Linked DNA regions of Homo sapiens: all the other regions are linked to region 2. Evidence: promoter capture Hi-C in 16 types of primary human blood cells and fetal thymus (Javierre and others, 2016). All regions are on one chromosome and are shown on one strand. The core of a region is centred on a gene start or on the middle of the fragment in contact, and the rest is flanking DNA. Distances in the headings are between cores, read along the strand shown. Region 1 has its middle 7.0 kb from the start of KCP. Region 2 holds the start of TSPAN33 (tetraspanin 33). Region 3 overlaps TNPO3 (transportin 3).

What was found. The method cuts DNA at HindIII sites, captures the fragments that hold promoters and counts their contacts. A CHiCAGO score of 5 or more calls a contact.
Region 1: a fragment that was not itself captured here is called in contact with the fragment with the promoter of TSPAN33 in region 2 in 3 of 17 cell types (naive B cells, endothelial precursors and total B cells); the score reaches 7.4 in naive B cells.
Region 3: a fragment that was not itself captured here is called in contact with the fragment with the promoter of TSPAN33 in region 2 in 1 of 17 cell types (total B cells); the score reaches 5.2 in total B cells.

What each region holds. Positions count from the first base shown.
Region 1 is chr7:128,915,648-128,919,758 of GRCh38, reverse strand. No RefSeq gene overlaps it. Among named protein-coding and RNA genes, the nearest start is that of KCP, 7.0 kb to the right of the region's middle. The HindIII fragment of the contact is 4,905 bases long and covers 1-4,111 here.
Region 2 is chr7:129,143,457-129,147,672 of GRCh38, reverse strand. TSPAN33 (tetraspanin 33) reads right to left here and starts at 2,966. Exons shown (of 8, transcript NM_178562.5): 1 at 2,591-2,966. The coding sequence starts at 2,692. RefSeq lists a silencer at 2,844-3,053. The HindIII fragment of the contact is 19,696 bases long and covers 1-4,216 here.
Region 3 is chr7:128,954,016-128,957,865 of GRCh38, reverse strand. TNPO3 (transportin 3) reads left to right here. Exons shown (of 23, transcript NM_012470.4): 22 at 551-642; 23 at 2,481-3,681. The coding sequence ends at 611. Among named protein-coding and RNA genes, the nearest start is that of IRF5, 18 kb to the right of the region's middle. The HindIII fragment of the contact is 734 bases long and covers 2,169-2,902 here.

The DNA of each region.
Region 1 (4,111 bases), core at 1,132-3,631, 230 kb after region 2:
ATGATTATGACAATGAAAATAATAACAGATTGTGGTGCTTAAAATGTGCTGGGCACTGTAAAAAGTTTTCTGTGTGTATTATCCTACTTAACACCTGTGCTGGCCATCTCTTATGCAAATCCTCTCAGCTGTACCTCATTCCAGTTGTACACAGTTTGCAAGCAGCTCCACACAGTGCACCCTGACAGCGTCTCTCCTGAGGTCCTGGCTGCAAATCTACCTCTCTCATTTTGGAATTTCTCTGATGCACAGCATTGGATACCCTCGGGAACCCATGTGGGCACTGGCTCATGCATAACTGGGAGCAAGCTAATGCCCTGGGGGCCTCCCAGTGCCGATGGCTTCTACTGCCTGCCTGCCTTTCACATGGCTCCCCAGGTCCTGCAGGACCGGATGCTGATGCCCACCGCAGTGGTCGGCTCCATTGCATAATGCACCCTTGTATTGGCTCTCCATCCTTCCCAGTTTCACACTTCCAATCCTCCCTCCTGCTCCTGGGGATCATATTCCAAAATCAGCCTGCATGCAAGCCTTTGTCTCAGGCTCTGATTTCCAGGAACCCAGGCTAAGACAATCGTTTTTTATTTGTTTGTTTGTTGTTGTTTTTGTTTTGTTTTGTTTTTGAGACAGTCTCACTCTGTCACCCAGGCTGGAGTGTAGTGGCACTAATCTCGGCTCACTGCAACCTCCATCTTCTGGGTTCAAGTGATTCTCCTGCCTCAGCCTCCCAAGTAGCTGGGATTACAGGTGCCCGCCACCACACCCGGCTACTTTTTGTATTTTTAATAGAGACAGAGTTTCGCCATGTTGGCCAGGTTGGTCTCGAACTCCTGACTTCAGGTGATCCACCCACCACAGCTTCCCAAAGTGCTGGGATTACAGGCATGAGCCATCACACCCAGTCTGACAATCCTTAACGAGAGCAAAGACAGAAGTGCTCTTATTACCCCTGTTTCGTAGGGGAGGACCTGAGACTTAGGTTCAATAACTTGCCAAGATCATATGGCAAGTAAGGGGCAGAACCATTGGAAGGTTAAAAAAAAAATGCTCCTCTCAGGGAGGGGGAGAACGATTTGCCAAGAGATTGTAGGAGGATTTCTGGCAATGTCCAGTGCTCATTGATATTTGTGGCCACGAGTCTGCCATGGAAGCAATGGAGTGGTGAGATGCTGTCCAGCAATATTCAGGGGCTCTGACAGAGGCATGAAGAGGGCAGGTGGGGGTGCTGGGGTGTGGGACTGGGCAGAGCAGGGGGTGAGCTGGGCAAGAAGCAGCTGAGAGTCACAGTGACCAGGGATGGCGAGGAGGCTAGGACTTCTCATGACGATAACATTTCTAGGGAGAACACCTAGTAGGTCGTGCCAAGGATAGGGCCAGGCTACTTGGCTGGAGGTCAGTGTGGACAGGCCTGGCCAGGCCCCAGGATCCTAAGGACCTCAAATTGATTCCATTCTCTACAGCTTATTCCCACTGTGACTCTGAGCTTATGCTAAAAAATTGTGCTGTTTATTTGAAATTCAAATTTAACAGGACATTCTGCATTTTTATTTGCTAAATCTGGCAACCCTATCCCGCCATGAGCCAGTAACACCTCCCTGCATAGCCATGACCTCCTCTTCCTCCCAGCTCTCTTCATGTCCCTGGCACCACTGCTATCCTAGTGTCCCAAGCTCGGCCTCCACTATTCCAGGGGATCCAGCCAGTCACCGGCTCCTGCCCGTCCTTTAGAAACATCCCCCTTTCTCCAGCCCACTGCCATCCCTGGCTCCATGCCTAGACAACTGCTGTCACAGCCCCGACGCCTCTGTCTGCATCTAGCCCCCACCAGGTGAATATTCCTCAAGCGCCCCCTTGACCATGCCACAGGCTGCTTCAGCCTTCAATACCCCCCACTGCCCATAGAAAAAAGTCCTAATTGCAAGGCTTACAGCAGCCTGTTCCCACTGGCCTTCCCACATGGACTTCCTGCAACCCACCTCTCTCCACCCTGTCCTTGTGCCCAGAGGACCCTCACGTACTCCTTCTCCTTCAGGTGGAACCCCACTTTCCCATGAAGACCCAGCTCAAAGGACCCATTGTCTGTAAAGGCCCCCTGACTGCCCAGCCTCGACGGGCTTCCCCTGCCTCCTGTGCCCTCCTCTGGCAAAATACACACTGCACTGCCTTCTACACCTCCTCTTAATCTGCTCATTGGGTCTTCAATCTTGTGGTAGCTTGGCTATGAGCTTATCTTCTCAACTAGATTGGAGGCTCCCTGAGGGCAGGAAAAAGATTTTGTGCCTGTTTCCCCATGGTCTCTGGCTCAGTCCCAGGCCAGAGCCAGTATCTGCTGACTTGTGTATGGGTTCTGCACTCCCCTGGCCACTGTCAGGAGTGAGTGGGTAGGCACCCCTGGGCATGTCCCAGGCTCGCTGACTCTCAGGTGGCAGGCCGTGGCTGTGGACATGCAGGAGATGGGGCTGAGGCTGGCAGGAGGCTGACCTGGCTCACAGTGCAGGCAGCATGCTCCTGGCTCAGGGCAGGGTCCTCTTGGGCATGGCTTCTGGTTGCAAGTGATGGTCCCTTCCTGTGGGAGCAGACTGAGGTGGCTGCACAGGCATCAGAGCCCTGGAGGGCAGGGCCTCTGGAAGCAAAACCTCAGCCCAGGCGGGGACATGTCATAGGGGCAAGAGGATGAGTTGGCTCTGTGGATGTGGGCTACCCTCTGTGTAAAGGCAGAAAAGAGACATCCTGCCCCAACCCGAGTCGTCTCTTGATGTTTTTTGTTTTGTTTTGTTTGAGACAGGTTCTCAATGTATTGCCCAGGCTAGAATACAGTGGCTCCATCATGGCTCACTGCAGTCTCGACCTCCCCATCTCAAGTGATCCTCCCGCCTCAGCCTCCAGAGTAGCTTGGGACTGCAGGCGCTCACCATGACGCCTGGCTAATTTCTTTTTATTATTTTTGTAGGGACTGGGTCTCCTTATGTTGCCCATGCTGGTCAGCTTCTGGACTCAAGCAATCCTCCTGCCTGGCCTTCCCAAAGTGCTGAGATTACAGGCGCAAGCCACCACCTGGCATCCTAATGCTCTTGACCCGGGAAACCATCTCTTTCAGGTGCCAGAGCTCAACGATAGCATGGACTGGGGAAGACCTGCGGACCCTTCAGAGCTGGGGGGAGTCGGGGGGCGGGGCGCGGAGCGGAATTTGAGGTTATGGAATTACTATTTCCCTGTTCCAGACTGCCGAAGAAGCCCAGTGGTCGTCTAGGCCACCGCGCTATCTGTCTGGCGTCTCCTTACAGGCCCTGGGCCTGGCCCAATGCTCCCTCCAGGTCAGTAGTCACCGGTAAGTGCCAGCCTCCTCGAGTGGTCCCTCCGGTCGGGGCCGGCGCGGTGCAGAAGAACCCAGCGCAGCCCGGGCAGAGTCAGCTCGGCCCCGCCGCCCCACCAGTGCTCAAGGGCGCAGCCACGCAGGAGCATCGCAGACAGGTGGGTCCCGGCCGCCGCTCTCTCCTCTCCGCGTCCCCGCGTCCCCGCGTCCCCGCGTCCGGAAGGTGGTGGGAGCGGTACCGGCTGTTGCCCACCCACAAGTCTAGGCCTCAACCAGGGCCCGCGCCCCTCAGGCACCTGCGGGCGACCGGATGAAGACTGGAGTAGGGCGGGGTCCGCGTCCAGCTGCGCCTGGAGACCGAGCTTCGGTGGGTGCCTACAGCAGGGCGCGCCCCGCCGGCCTGGGACCTCCCAGGCGCCCCTCACGCCCCGATCCGTTTGAGGTGCTGGCGCCCAGGGAACCCCAAGGCCCAGGCGGCGAGGTCGGCACCGCAGCTGGGGGCGCAGGCTCTGCTGCTCCCACCCCCCCACCCCCACCCCGCCATCGCCCAGAATGGGGGCTCCCAGGCGCCCTGCTGGAGGCTGGCTTGGTCCACAGAGGAGCGAGGCCCGATCCTTACTTTCGATGCACTCGCCCTCGCTCTTCCCGGGTCACCCTAACCCTTTCGGAAAAAAAGGTGGAGGTTTAAAGCGTTCATCCCCCGGGATCTTCAGGCCAATGGCAGGAATTGTGCAAGAGTTTGGGGGAAGATAGTGTCAGGTAGAGGCTCCGTCCGTCCCTGGGCTCGCGGCCGGGAAT
Region 2 (4,216 bases), core at 1,717-4,216:
GCCTGCAAAGGGTGTGGGCTGACCATCATCTCATCCATAGGTGCTTCCTGGGCAGAAGAGCAGAATTTGATTAGGATGGTGGAAGTCTACAAAAAAGAAAGCATGGGAACCAGTCCCTGAAGAGGAGCTAGGAAGAAAGATGGCCCCCTGATCTGGGGAGGCAGCATTTTCTCTCCAGCTGCTCTTGTATGAATATACCTGTGCAGCACTGGGTTTGGGGGAGAAGGGACATTCAATAACACCTGAAAAGTACTGTCCCCTAGGAAGGGCAATCAGGACACAGGGAGATTCATCCTTAGATCCAGCTCTAGGTCTTGAAGAAAGAAAACAGTCCCCAAAATGATTCATTCATCCTTAAATAGTTCACTGAGGCAGAAATTGTTTCTCCTTTAGAGGAGAAAGATTAAGGTCAGAGAGACAGATACATTGGCTTAGGGTCACACAGTAAGTTGGTGCCAAAAAGATGCTGAGCCTCTTGTCTTTCAGTGTGCTATTTCTAGAGCCTCTGATTTTTTATGAGTCTACTGTAGGGCCAAGAAGGGGCTCTATTCTAATTTGGGGTGGTGCTAGCTTGGCCACCCACGTCTTCTGACCTTGAATGAAGCATTTTTACCAAGGTAAATGGGTCTGTGGAGCCAAACTCTCTCCTGGCTGAGATCTCTCAAAGTCGTTTGTCCGATAAAAGGGGGGTAGGGTGGAGGTAGGGGGTAGGGAAGCTCGAGAAAAAAAAAATGACCAGGAACACAAGTGTAACAGATGCACCCAGCTGTTGTCACTGGCGAGCACAGACAAGGGTGAGGTACCAATGGCTCCAAGGGAGACAGTCTCGGCAGATAAAGGAAGTCAGAGTGACGACCTAAAGTCCCTGAAATGCTAGTGCTGGCTCCGAGGATGTCACGTCACTGGCCTGGCACACTCAGTGAGCACAGAGACTTCACTGATACTTGCCCCTAAGTGGGGAGTCTCTTAGTACATCCCCCAGCACTGGTAGAGTGGTAAGGGATTTTCTTGTGTTTTTCCCTAACCTCCAGCTGAAGCAGAACCTAGACTATGGGAACTTGGGTTGACTGGTTAACTACTAATACTGCCCATACCCCAGCTATAGCAGCAGCCATCTGTGCTGAGGACTTCCCCCAGCGGCACTGTGGTTCAGTAGAAAGGTCACCAGACCAAGCCTGCTAACCAGCTGTTGGACCTTGGACAAAACATTTAACATCTCTGTGCTTTAGTTTTCTACATTTTATAGACATAAACACAGATGCTGGACAAGATGTCTTCTAAAATTTTTTTCCAGTTTTACAACTGAGCATTTGATAGGAGCACAAGTTTCATTTTCCCCAGGAGTAGGATGGCTGAGTGCGCTGTCATCACCACCCTATGGGATTTCTCTCATTTGTCCCAACAGGCCAGCACTTATGGGCTTTGTGTCTGCACCTCACCCCACGGGCCCTGTGAAACCTTTCCAGCAAATGGCTTAGATGTCTGTTCTGCTCCCTCCCCTAGGAAACATATTTTAGACTCAATTCTTCCCTCCTGCAAGTCTGAACTTTAGGTCTCCAGCTGAAGTGGGCAAGGATGGTGGGCTCCAGAAGCAGCAGCTCTGGTGTGGTAGGAGCCAGAAGAGGAGGTGAATGGGGGAAGGATGTCCCTATGTTCTCACACCCCAGGACCTCCAGGACTCTCTAGCCAGGAAACAGGGTCGAGCTGGCATTGCATGATCTGGTTCAGCTCAATTCTCAGCTTCAGCAGTCTTTCTGCCACCCCTGATCACACTGGGTTGGATTTGTGGGGGAGGGAGTCAAGGCCTGCAGACATGAACATACATGCTTAGGTCGGTCAAGTCAACAATGAACGGCAGAGTGGGATGGGAATCCAGGTGTCCGGAGTCCCAGCCCAATACTTTTTCCACCCCAAGCAGAAGATTCTGAAAGGACCCCTGGCCCTCCGGCCCAACACGGGGTCCTGTTTAAAGACACTGGTGATTGCCAGGCTCCAGGGGTGAAGTCTGGTCCTGAGAAGGGTGGCAGGGAGGGGACAAAGTTTGGGGCAGTGCTGGGATGGGAAAGACATCTGCACCTGGAGGCCATTCTTCCTAGACTTTGGGGGGGTGGAGGTGGGGGTAGATGAGGCCTGCAAAAGGAAGAGATGATGCCAGTAACCCATCCTCTCTGAGGTGGTGGAGAGAGAGGTTTGGGTTTTTCCTTCCTCTTCTTTCTTTGCCAGCCGGGCCTCCAGGCCCCCAGGCCTGAAAGTCAGCCGCCACCCCCGACCCCCATCATGAATGTGTCAGTGGGTCCGCCTTGGGCCAACAGGCTCCCTCAAACCCACATTTCTAGCCTAACACAGACCCTCCTCCGACGCCCCGAGAATACCCATCAGTCTTTACTGATTCCCTGGCATACCCTCCTCCCTACAACGCCCCCTGCAGACGCGGCGTCCCCGGGGTGTCCCTCCCCAGGATAAATTCCCCCAAAGTGCCGTCAGCCCAGAAAACTCGGCAGTGCGGCTCCCGCGCGTGGGGCACCCCGGGCCACCCTTCCACCCCGCGGGGGGACCCCGCCGCCCAGGTGCCCTCGACCCCGAGACTCACCCAGAAGAGCATGTTGAAGAAGAAGAGCAGGTATTTCACCAGCGGGCTGACGAAGGAGAACTCCTCCCCGGAGGCGGCCGGCGCCCGGGGTCTCCGCGCCATGGCCCCGCCGCCGCCACCGCCCCCGGGGGCCTATTTCCCAGCGGCTGCCGGCCGGCCTGTGTGCCCCGCGCCCGGGGGCATGAGCCGAGCCGCGCCGCGCAGGAGCCCGGCCGGCGGGGGAGCCTGCGCTGCGGCGGGAGGCGCCCGAGCCGGGGGGCCGGGAGCGGCGCGGGCCGGGGAACCGCGCCTGGAGCTGCTGGAGCCGCGGTGGGCAGCGCGAGCGGACGAGACTCACCCGCGGCCGCAGGACCAGCCCGGCCAGCCAGGCGCCCAGGAAACCCGGCCCGCCCCCGGCCGCTCATTGGCGCGACGGCTGGAGCCCGACTTCCCATTGGCTCGTGGCTGATGTCACTAAGTATCCAGCCATCCCTCTCCACCGAGAGTCGGGGGAGACACCTGTTCTGTGAGGGATAACTTGTTAAAGGGTCAGCGGTTCTGCCTCTCCCCTACCCCTAAGGGAAAGCATCCAGGCTGCAGCTGCTCAAAGGAACAAGAGTGAGGAGAAGGAATGCACAGTGCATCCCACACCCACGTCCTCCGCCCAGCTGCTGTGCACATATGCAAACACACATACATTAAAATCAACAAGTACGCACACCGTGTGTTGAGCAATGCGCCGAAAGCTCTGGGAACGCGGGAGAACAGAAACAATCCCTGGGGGATGACAATAAAATCAGGGAGACAAAACTAACCTACACATAACAATTAGACCAAGGGTAGATGCAATCTTGTTTAGTAACTATACATTTTAAATGCTTATTTCAGAAGCTCTACAACCCAACAGTGGAAATTTGGAAACATCACCGCCAATCCCGCCATCCTAATTCATTGCTGTCTCAATTCCCGCCCCCGCAGCCCCTCTTCCCTTGGTCTACTTGCAGACACCGTTTTTAACATGCTGATCCGGCACACACAGGTTGAGTGCAGCGTAGCTGGCGAATATATTATGCTGGCTACCCTAACTAATACAAGTTGAACCTCGGGGAGGGAATCTGATTCCACCATAATTAGCTGCGTGAAAGCTGCAAGCTACTTAATCTCTCGGAGCCTCAGTTTGTTTAATGTTAAATGGGAGAGTCCTGACCTAGATGGCGATTTGAGGATTAAATGAGATAATGCATGTAGCTCACTTAGCACATGGCTGGCACATGGAAGGCTCATCAAAGGCATTACAGTATTTCGTTTTAGCAGAATTAAGAATCCAGTGTGGAAATATGATAACCGCACAAATAATTATAATACGTTTGGTAGAAGGTTAGTGAAGATAGCGTGGCAAGTGAAATTAGGGGAGGATGGGATTTAGAATAGTAGAGACGGAGGGGAAACATAATCCAGGTGGATTAAAAAAAAAGGGGGTGAACCAAAGCCTGGAGGTGCAAAAGCACGCCATGTGTTTCGTGCAAAATAAGCAGACTGCTGTGGCTGGAGCACAGGGTATGCTTGGAATAGCAGTGGGACATAATGCTGACCGATGCCGTTACATGTGGAATTGTGTTAAAACTGCGGAAGTAATTGAATATCAGA
Region 3 (3,850 bases), core at 1,286-3,785, 190 kb after region 2:
CTGAGCAGCCTGTTCAACTAGAAAATCAATGACTGGTGGAGACTTAGTTGCTAGACCGGCCTTTGTAAACAAAATCTATCTTTGGAAGAGAATGAGGAAACTTATGAGAGCCGTAGCAACCAAGTGTTGTTGTAGCAGCCTACATTTATTGAATACTATTTTGTTCACTGCTCTATTTTCATAAGCACTCTGTATGTGGACGATTTTAATCCTCTAAACAGTGTTATGAAGTAGATAATATTAATAGATGAGGAAACTGAGACAAAGATTGGTAACTTGTTCAAGGGCACAGTGGAGCCAAGATTCAAACTCGGGCAGTTTGTGTCCAGAGTACACCCTTTGAAGACCACCAAGCTTATAACTTTTCTCATATATAATAATTTTTGCCCTGAATTACAGAAAGATCTGAAGCCAGGATCGCTCAGGAGACGATGGAGAGAGCTCCTAGCAGAGTTGGGACGGTTCTCAGTGTGCCCCAATGTTGCAGTTGTTTTTCAGCATATTCTGTCTTTCTCCTCAGTCAAGGACCAACCTACCTTTTCTTTTCTAGTGCTGAGGAATGTAAACAAGTTTGCTGGGCCTTGCGAGACTTCACCAGGTTGTTTCGATAGCTCACACTCCTGCACTGTGCCTGTCACCCAGGTGAGGATACATAGTTCCCAGCTTTTGTCCGGACTGTCGGACTGTTGGGGATGCCTGGGAATGGGGATAGGTTTTAATGCCTATCATGGGACCAGTCTTATAGCTAGAGTCAGGGAAGGACTCAGCAGTTTAACTGTGGTGAACAGCTGGAATATACAGGGCCCGGATTTTCTTGGGCCTGGGCAGCCAGTAATTGTCAGTGTCTTTGGGGTACCATTTTCACCTCCATAAGAAAGTAACTGTTACACAGTGCATTGAAACATTTTCTTCCCCCTTCCCCTTACAGACACTTCTAAGATGGTAAGTGTACATGGCAACAAACAAATAAGTATTTTTAACCTGGCCACTTTGGCGAAAACAACCTCAAGTTGACTGTTATATGTGGTGCCAGTCTCCTAAAACTGACCCTCCAGATGTAATGAGCAAAGAGCTTATTCTTATCACTTTTATGACCTGAATGCTGAAGTGCCAGGTTTTGACCAGGGCAGGAGGTATGAATTGAATATCCCTTATCCGAAATGCTTGGGATTTCGGAGGAAAAAACACTTTCAGAAGTGTTTTTCAATTTTGGATTTTTTGGGATTTTGGAATATTTGCAGAATGCACACCAGTTGAGCATTCCTAATCCAAAAATCCAAAATCCAAAATGCTCCAATGCTCATTCGCTTGAGGGTCATATCAGCGTTCAAAAAGTTTCAGCTGTTAGGGATGCTTGGCCCTTACAGGAGAGGAGGAGCATCTTTGGCTCCCGATGAGCACTTTTCTCCACGTGCTTTCCGTCTCCTGGTTCTGAAGCAAAGCAAGAAGCTTAGCTGAAAGGAGTGGGTAGTAGAATTTGGGTGCCAGTTTCTTGATGGAGAGAAGAAAGGTAGCTCTCCTCTAAGCCCACCCTTTGATGTCTCAAGGTGAGTTTCTTCTCCCAGGAGGCAATTCTTGATGAATCTGTAGCACTCACTGGTAGTTTCTGTGTTAAATGCATTCATAGGTAAAAGTGATGTTCAGCAGTGCCTTGCCACACCCAAAATCATTTCTCAACTTTGATTGTTTTAATGAGTAATAATATCATTTGGGATGTCCTGGTTTTGCATGGTGTCTGGGTTAGCTGACATTGATACACCTCATAAGGTTGCTCATGGACAGCTGTAGGTGTTCATGGTTAACTTTTATTGTGCCCTTACTGTGTGTCAGGGCACTGTTTTAAGTGTTTTAGATGTATTAACTAAGATAATCCTCATCTGCTTTTCTGGATTTGTTACTATTTTTCCCATTTTACAAATGAGGAAATTGAGGTTCAACAATGTTTAACAATTTGCCTGACAGTTATTCGTGGAGCCAGAATTCACATGTAGATATTCTGGTACCAGAGTCCTCACTTTGAACCACTCCGCTTAATACAGTATCCTTTCGATAGCATCTAAATTGGTGTTTTGTTTTGTTTTGTTTTCAACTGTTATTAGTAGGCAAAGCCTTCTTTCAAAATAAAATCGACATGAAGCCTGTGGGATTTAGCAGACTGAGGCAAAGCTTCCCTGGTTGCTTTGGAATGGGAGGCCTGGACCTGCTGGCTCTTTGCCCTCCTGACACATCATCCCTTGTTTCCACAGCACACTCAGCATTGGAAGCACACTGCAGACGGTGTCTCATTAAAGCAGTAGCTCCCTTGAACCCACAAGTTAAAACGCCAGACTTTTATTTATTTGTTTATTTTTTCTGAGTTCTTATTGGCAGACTTCAGAATGAGGTACCTGAGGAAATATAGAAACCTCTGCCTTAAGGTTGATTTTACTAAATGCTCTATTTTCTGGTGCAGTTATTGACTGTCTTATCTCTTTTGTCAGGAATGTCTTTTTTAATTAGAAGACAGGAAGAAAACAAAAACCAGACTGTGTCCCACAATCAGAAACCTCCGTTGTGGCAGAGGGGCCTTCACCGCCACCAGGGTGTCCCGCCAGACAGGGAGAGACTCCAGCCTTCTGAGGCCATCCTGAGGAGTTCCTGTTTGGGGGTGTGAGGGAAAATCAGCGCGGATTTTAAAAAGATGGCTGTGGCCTGCCCGGCGTGGTGGGAGGGGAGCTGGTTTCCTGGTGAACTTTCTAAAAGGAAAAATAATTTTAAGTAAAGAAAAAAGAAAAAAAAGGAAGACTAAACAGAAACCAGAACTGAAACATTCACCTGGTAGCAAATGACACATGCACGCACACACACATACACGCACAAGCGCCAGTGCGCACGTGTACACAGAAAAACAAAAGGACAAGCTTTCTGTGAAACAAAATATTTACTTAGGGATAATGTGGGGATTCACATGAATTAAATAGCTGCAATTGGAAGAAGAGGGTCAGGGTCATTTGTTCAGGTTTTCTATTGTTTTGTCCTCTCTTTCCTCTCCTACCCTTCCTTCTCTTTCTCTCTCCCCTCCTTTTAAATGCAAATGAGTAGAAATTTCTTCTACCTTCCCCAGCTGTTTCTTCCCACCTTTAGAGTTGTTTAGACAAGGAGGAGTAAGCAAGGAACTTGTTCTGCTTTCTATCGTGGTCACATTGGTGATGCTCGGGACCTGCCAGGGTCAGAATTTATGGATATCTGAACCCTGACCCCGTTCATTCTCTCAGTCCACTTCCAATCCACATCAGTTTGTTGTCTGCCTTGGAGAGAAGAGCCAAAACTGGGGTGGGCGGGTGGGTGGGGAGTGCAGGATATAAATGTGTAAGTTTTTGTTTTTTAAGGTTTTTTTCTTAGTGAATTATTCACCCACAGACATGAGAGAAAAAAAGAGGGAGGGTGTGTGGAGAAAAAATGTTTACAGGGCTAACAAGGGATGATGTGTCATTTAGTATGTTACTAAAAAGTGTGGAAATGACTTGATTTTAAGGGGAGGGTGAGGCCGAAGAGGGAAGCCCAAAGCAGATCTTAATGTTTCAAAGGAGTGCAGCCCTTCACAGCCATCAGATATGAGGGCACTGTTCTGTCTGGTGTTGTAGCCATCTCAAGAACAAATCAACAGCAACAAAAGAGAAAGAATAAATTTTTAAAATTTAACCAGTGTTTCTTTGTTTTTACTTTCATTCACTGCCTTGTAGCTCGGAAATGGTTCAGCTAGACTAGCTATGGAAGCAGCCTTTGGTACCTGATAGACATCTGGGGATGGAGTTGAAAGGGCAGGCCCCTGCCCTGATGCCACAGACCCTTCAGACTTCAGGGAAGTGGT